2 separate regions of the Homo sapiens genome follow, and region 2 is linked to region 1. The links are contacts of gene promoters, found by promoter capture Hi-C in blood cells and fetal thymus (Javierre and others, 2016). All regions are on one chromosome and are shown on one strand. The core of a region is centred on a gene start or on the middle of the fragment in contact, and the rest is flanking DNA. Distances in the headings are between cores, read along the strand shown.

The links. The method cuts DNA at HindIII sites, captures the fragments that hold promoters and counts their contacts. A CHiCAGO score of 5 or more calls a contact.
Region 2: a contact is called between a fragment that was not itself captured here and the fragment with the promoter of TRERF1 in region 1, in 1 of 17 cell types (M0 macrophages). The highest score is 5.5, in M0 macrophages.

What each region holds. Positions count from the first base shown.
Region 1 is chr6:42,450,643-42,453,773 of GRCh38, forward strand. TRERF1 (transcriptional regulating factor 1) reads right to left here and starts at 1,284. Exons shown (of 18, transcript NM_001395490.1): 1 at 1,032-1,284; 2 at 535-619. It overlaps LOC124900214 (arf-GAP with GTPase, ANK repeat and PH domain-containing protein 2-like), which reads left to right and starts at 1,718. Exons shown (of 4, transcript XM_047419627.1): 1 at 1,718-3,131. The coding sequence starts at 2,179. It overlaps LOC107986596 (a long non-coding RNA gene), which reads left to right and starts at 1,718. Exons shown (of 5, transcript NR_171668.1): 1 at 1,718-1,983. RefSeq lists silencers at 1,749-1,828, 2,299-2,738. The HindIII fragment of the contact is 2,023 bases long and covers 816-2,838 here.
Region 2 is chr6:42,329,586-42,332,502 of GRCh38, forward strand. The region is part of intron 3 of TRERF1 (transcriptional regulating factor 1); the gene reads right to left. Among named protein-coding and RNA genes, the nearest start is that of MRPS10, 110 kb to the left of the region's middle. The HindIII fragment of the contact is 6,589 bases long and covers 1-2,917 here.

The sequences.
Region 1 (3,131 bases), core at 34-2,533:
GTTGGTTTTTAATATCTGTTTCTTAAGACCACCGGCAGTAACTTCCCAGTCTCCCAAACTGAAGTTGGGGAGTGAAGGAACAGGTTTACCCCCTTACACATTTCTCCCATCTGGGTGGCCACACTAACTTCTGGGGAGTACCCAGCCCCCACAGAGCCCGCAGGCGCGTATACATACACATATGTATCATGTCAAAAACCCCAAAAGGCAGAGTCCTGCGGTTTCTTAGCTGGAGAATGAAGCCTTTATAACATCACAACCTCAAATGCAAGCCCACCATCACTACCTTTAAGCCAGGGTTGCCAATTATAGCGCCCACCTCATCCCTCCCCCTTTGCTGGGATGCTGTGCAGCCCGGAGAGGGAAGAAGGGAAGAAGGGAGAAGGCCTGCTTGCATAGTGAAAGTAAAGGGGGGGGAGACTTCTCCTTCTGTCTCCCCACTCTTCCCTCCCCACTTCGCCCCACCCCCGTCTTCTCGAGGAGCATCCCCAAACTAATTTTTTAAAAATGAAACTTAATAAGCTTCTTGCCTACCTTGGCTGTTTCTGCAACAAGTGCATGGGCAATCCGACGAGAAGACCAGTATCCGCTTGGGGGGTGAGATGGGGGGCGAGCAGAGCTGATGGAGTAATTTCAATATTAATTTATGTCAGCCGCCTTCTCTCAGCGCTACTCACTTACTGTACTGCCCTCAGCCTGTAAACAAATATCGCTCCGCCAGGAAACATACTCCCCAGATGCAAGCCCCTCTCCCCAGCAGGGAACCTGGCCCCTCGTCCCCCCGACAAGAGTGTGCTCCCCCACCCAGGGTAGGAAGCTTTGGGTTTCCAAAGCACCAACCCACCACCTCCTCCACCACCCCAGCAAGAAACTTACTCGGTCCGTCTACGCCTCCACCCTCCCTTCAGGAAATCTACTCTCCATATGCATTCAGCCTCCCCGCAGGAAATCTGCTCCCCCCTCCCCCCTTCTATATACATGCACCCCTCCCTCTCCTCCTCCCCATGCGCCCTCCCCGGCCAGAAACTTACTAGTGAGCAAGCGTGCAGGCTCTCCTGATGCTGGAAACTTACTCCCAGATATAGCGCCCGCCAGCCCCCTTTCCCAGCCCTGCTCCCCTTCCTGCCCTCCGCCGCAAGCAACTCCAAACTCTCCGCATCCAGCCGTTCTCCCTCCCCAGTGGAAATTTGCAGCGCCGGGCTGCGCGCGTGCATCCACCCTCCCCTTCAGGAAACTTACTCCCCATCTGCATGCACCGCCTCTCAGCCATCGCTTAGAGGGAAGGGGGTGTGCTGGGGAGACAGAAATACATATGTATCTCTCGCCCCTCCCCCGGTCGCAGCCCACTCGGGGCCGAGCCGCGGTAACCTGGCCTTACCTTTGCATTGCTCCCCATCCTCGCCCCCTCCCTTAACCCTCCTTATCCGCTCCCCGGTACCCCCCTTTTTTCACCCATTACCCACCCCTAGCAACCGTTCCCAAGCTCCTCTCGGCCTTTTTTTTTTTTTTAAATCCAGGATGCAAATTCCTCCCTTGTCAGCAAATCGACTGTCAAATTATTTTCTTGCAAAAGGAGAAAGGCGGGGTGGGGGGGGGGAGCAGGAGCAAAAAGAGGGGGAGGGCGGGGGAAGGGAGGGGGAAGGGAGGGAGAGGGACCGAGGAGGGGAGATATCCCTCCGCAGAGCTGGGTCTGGCCGCGGGCGGGGAAGCAGGAAGTAAGGTGTCCAGCGCCGCGACCGGCTGGTCGTCCGCCTCGGCCCCCGCCCGCGTCCCCTTTCCCCCGGGGCGCAGCGCTACGGCGGGCGCGGGCCGCCCGGCGCATTGTTCGCAGCCTTCGCGGCGGTGCGCTGCTGACTTTATTTGTGCGCTTTGCGTGTGCGTGAGGTTGCACCTTTTGTAGGCTGGCGAGTCTCTGGACGAGGATGGGACGGGGGACACGGGCCCAGTTGCGGCCCTGCGCGAGCGGGACCTGTCAGCCCTGAGGTGCAGCGGACCCTCCGGCATGGCCGGAAAATCGAGGCCGGGGAGAAGGCAGCGTGGCCGGGAAGCTGCCGCCTTAAACCCGGACCAGTGCAGGATTGCTTCCTGCGTAGCCGTCCCGGTTATTGTAACACGCTTTGCAAGCTAACGACTGGGGTTTGTGAGGGGGTTTGTTTATTTTTCTAAGTGTTTGCAAAGATGCCGAGGTCGAGGCGGGCTGCGAGGAGACGGTCCGCGCCTACCCCCACCGCACCCTGGCCTCGGTGGGGCTGGGAGAGGGCTGGGGCTCCGGAGAAGGGGCTGGAGGTTCGCGAAGCGCGCGTCTCCATCCCTCCGCCCCGATGGGGGCGGGGAAGGGGTGCAGTAGACCGCGCTGGAAGAGCAGCTCTCTGGGGAGGGGTCTCCCTTGCCGCGGCAGGCGCAGCAGGCCGGGGAGGGGGGTTGCCTAGGAGAGGGGCCGGGCGGCGGAGGGGAGGGGAGGAGAGGGGGCGCGGGTGCAGCCGCCGCGCGCGCTCGCCCCTCCTCGCGCGCCATGACTGTGGAACGTGGTGCCGGGGAGGAGGGACGGCCACCGGGGGCCGCCCGGGGCTGCTCGGCATTGGTGCGGAAACCCGAGCCCGGAGTCGCTCCCTCGCGCTGTCTCCTCCTCCTCCTCTGCGGGGGAAACCGCTGCACCCAAACCGGGAGCAGCTGCGAGCAGGGGGCAGGGCGCGGGCTGAAAGGCGAGCCGAAGGTTCAAACCTCCGCGGCGCGGGCGGGGGCGGAGGGCAACAGCAGGACGGCCCCCAGGTCCCGAGAAGGCGTGGCAGTGGTCGGCCCAGGTGTCAGGGAACCTGGCCTGAGACCCCTGCATTTCCAAGCTTCTTTCCTGGTCAGAGGAAACGTGAACCAAAGGTAGTTCAGCTAAACAGACCACCTCGAGCCGGGTTCGAGGCATCTGTCTCGAGGGCAAGACAGTATTTTTTGCACGACAGAAAGTTACACCATCCATTTTTTTCCGTGGGGGAAATCATTGCGCCCCTTCCCCCAAAATGTCGCGCAAGAAGAATGACCTCCCGCTACCCAGACCTTCGCCAGTGTCCCCCACCCCACCCCCACCCGGGCGCTGGGTGTGGATTGGGCGGAGGGAGGCTATATGGGAGCTTAAAGCA
Region 2 (2,917 bases), core at 115-2,614, 120 kb before region 1:
CCAGCCCATCCCTCAGGTCCAGCGAATATATAGATATAAAGGAAGTTCGGGAACAGGTCATTCTGGAGGCACACTACACAGGAAAAAGACCGAGACATTTTACCGTTGAAAATGTACTGATTTGGCTGGGCACGGTGGCTCACGGCTGTAATCCCAGCACTTTGGGAGGCTGAGGTGGGCGGATCATGAGGTCAGGAGTTTGAGACCAGCCTAGCCAACATGGTGAAACCCCATCTCTACTAAAAATGCAAAAAATTAGCCGGGCGTGGTGGGGGCGCCTGTAATCCCAGCTACTCCGGAGGCTGAGGCAGGAGAATGGCATGAACCCGGGAGGCAGACCTTGCAGTGAGCCGAGATTGTACCACTGCTCTCCAGCCTGGGCGACAGAGCAAGACTCTGTCTTGGGGGAAAAAAAAAGTATTGATTCTATGTATGAACAAACAAAAAGGGGTAAATAAATTCAATGTCAACAAAACGAAAAAATTAATTTCCCTCTGCATATTAATATCCTTAATATATAAAGACAGCTTTGAAATCAATAAGAAAATAACCACACGAGCAAAAAAATGGGTTATAGGCAAGCCACAAGAGAAGAAACACAAATGGCATGAACACACAAGAAATAGTCAACCTCAGGAGACATCAGTAAAATGCAGATTAAAATAGCCTGTCAAATTGGAAAAGAATTTAAAATCATACTGCAGTGTTGGCAAGAATGTGGAGGAAACATGTATGCCAATACACTGGCTAGGGGGAAAAAGCTAGTAAACTCACCAGTATCTATCAAAATTTCAACATGCATGCCCTCTGACCCTGGAGTCAAGTCTACAGAATATTCATGTTATATACACAAAAACATAGGTTCAAAGATATTCAGTACTGACAAAGGTGTAAAGAAGTGGACACATTTATTGCTAATGGGAATGCAAATTAGTTATCATATTTATAAAGAGAATTTTAGCAATATGCACCAGAAACATCTTAAAGTTTTGCATATCCTTTGACCCAGAAATTCTTACAGAAATTCACCTGTAGGAATATGCCTAAAGATTTAGCTGCAAGGATACTCATGCAAACATTGTTGTATTTTTTATTTTTTTGAGACAGAGTCTCATTCTTTGCCTAGGCTGGAGTGCAGTGGCATAATCTTGGCTTACTGCAGTCTCAACATCCTGGGCTCAAGTGATCCTCCCACCTCAGCCTCCTGAGTAGCTGGGACTGCAGGTGCATGCCATGGTGCCCAGCTAATTTATTTATTTATTTTTGTATTTTTAGTAGAAATGGGGTTTCACCATGTTGGCCAGGCTGGTCTCTAACTCCTGGGCTCAAGAGATCCACCCGCCTCGACCTCCCAAAGTGCTGGGATTACAGGTGTGAGCCACTGCACCCGACCAGATGTTTTTTTTAACGGGGAAGCTGTAGGGAGGAACAATCTAAGTGTGCAAAACACGAGACTGGGTAAATAGAAGGCACAGGCATAGAATGGAATTCGACAAAGCTCCTCCAAAATATGCTGTAGGACTTCTGATTCAAAGACGGTAGATTGAAAGCATGTCTTTATCTCCTTTCCCTTCTCAGATTCCACTAAAATGACGGTTTACAGGAAAGAGGCAATTAGCAACAAATTATAGGGAGACCACAAATGGATGGGAGTGGTAACTGAGGCAGCAGGACAGGACACTCACAGAGAAGGATGTGCATAAGAAGAATGTGATCTGCTTGGTGAAGTCCAGAGAGTGAGAGAAGCAGCAAGGAAGCCAGGGGAGTGCAGGGTGGGGACTGAGATGAGGCTAGAGATGGGACTAACTGAAAGTCAGAAGGCAGGAGACTAAGACCTGCAGAGACTCTCCCTCCCTCCACCTGCCTGCACTTTGCAGATGTGCGAGTGGAGGTTCCTGCTCGGGATTAACTGACTGGCAACTAGGTCACCCCAAGTACCAGCCCGTTCCCTGGGGATCGCCCACCGGATAACCACTAAGTCAGAGGGGTCAGAGGTATAGATCCCGCAGAATGAAGGGCCACTGGGTGCTGCAGATCCCTAAGCGGGGAAGAGGCTGGGATTCAGCAGCTGGGGCAGAATCAGACACTAATTAGCCAGGGGAGGGCACCCTGTGAGCCACAGGGCTGGGTGCTGGGTGCTGTTCCTTCTAGCTCTGACATTCCATGCCACTGAGTTCCAGGTGAAGCTGGCCTAGCAGCGCTGCCAGGGGCACACATACCCCAGGCCCACGCGGGCCATGTGGCTGGCCCTTCCACCCCCAGCCTCCCTTTCCCTTGAGCTCTGCCCCAAAGAGTTAGGAATGAGGAGTTTGTAAAATATGTGTCACTGGCCATTCTTGCCCTGAAAAATCAGGAAATATTCTTTTTTTCTTTTTGAGATGGAGTCTTACTCTGTCGCCCAGGCTACAGTACGGTGGTGTGATCTTGGCTCACTGCAACCTCTGCCTTCTGGGTTCAAACGATTCCCCTGCCTCAGCCTCCTGAGTAGCTGAGATTACAGGTATGTGCCACCACACCTGGGTACTTTTTGTATTTTTAGTAGAGACAGGGTTTCGCCATGTTGGCCAGGCTGGTCTCAAACTGCTGACCTCAGGTGATCCGCCCACCTCGGCCTCCCAAAGTGCTGGTATTACAGGCGTGTGCCACCGCGCCCAGCGGGGAAACATTCTAAACCAGCCATGACAGCCTTGCAAACAAGAGGCCCTGAGAGAGACAAGGTGAGGTGTAGCAGGCGGGGCCAAGCCCAAGAACGCGGTGCCCACTCCAACATTTCCTTAGATCCCTATAGACAGAAAACAACTCAGAAAACAGACTAGCTATTACAAGGTTTCCTTGGACAGTCAAGGCTCTCTCGGAGGTGAAGCTGGGGGCAATGCCAACTCACCTCCCTGGGGTGCAAGCAACAATGAAAGGGAGA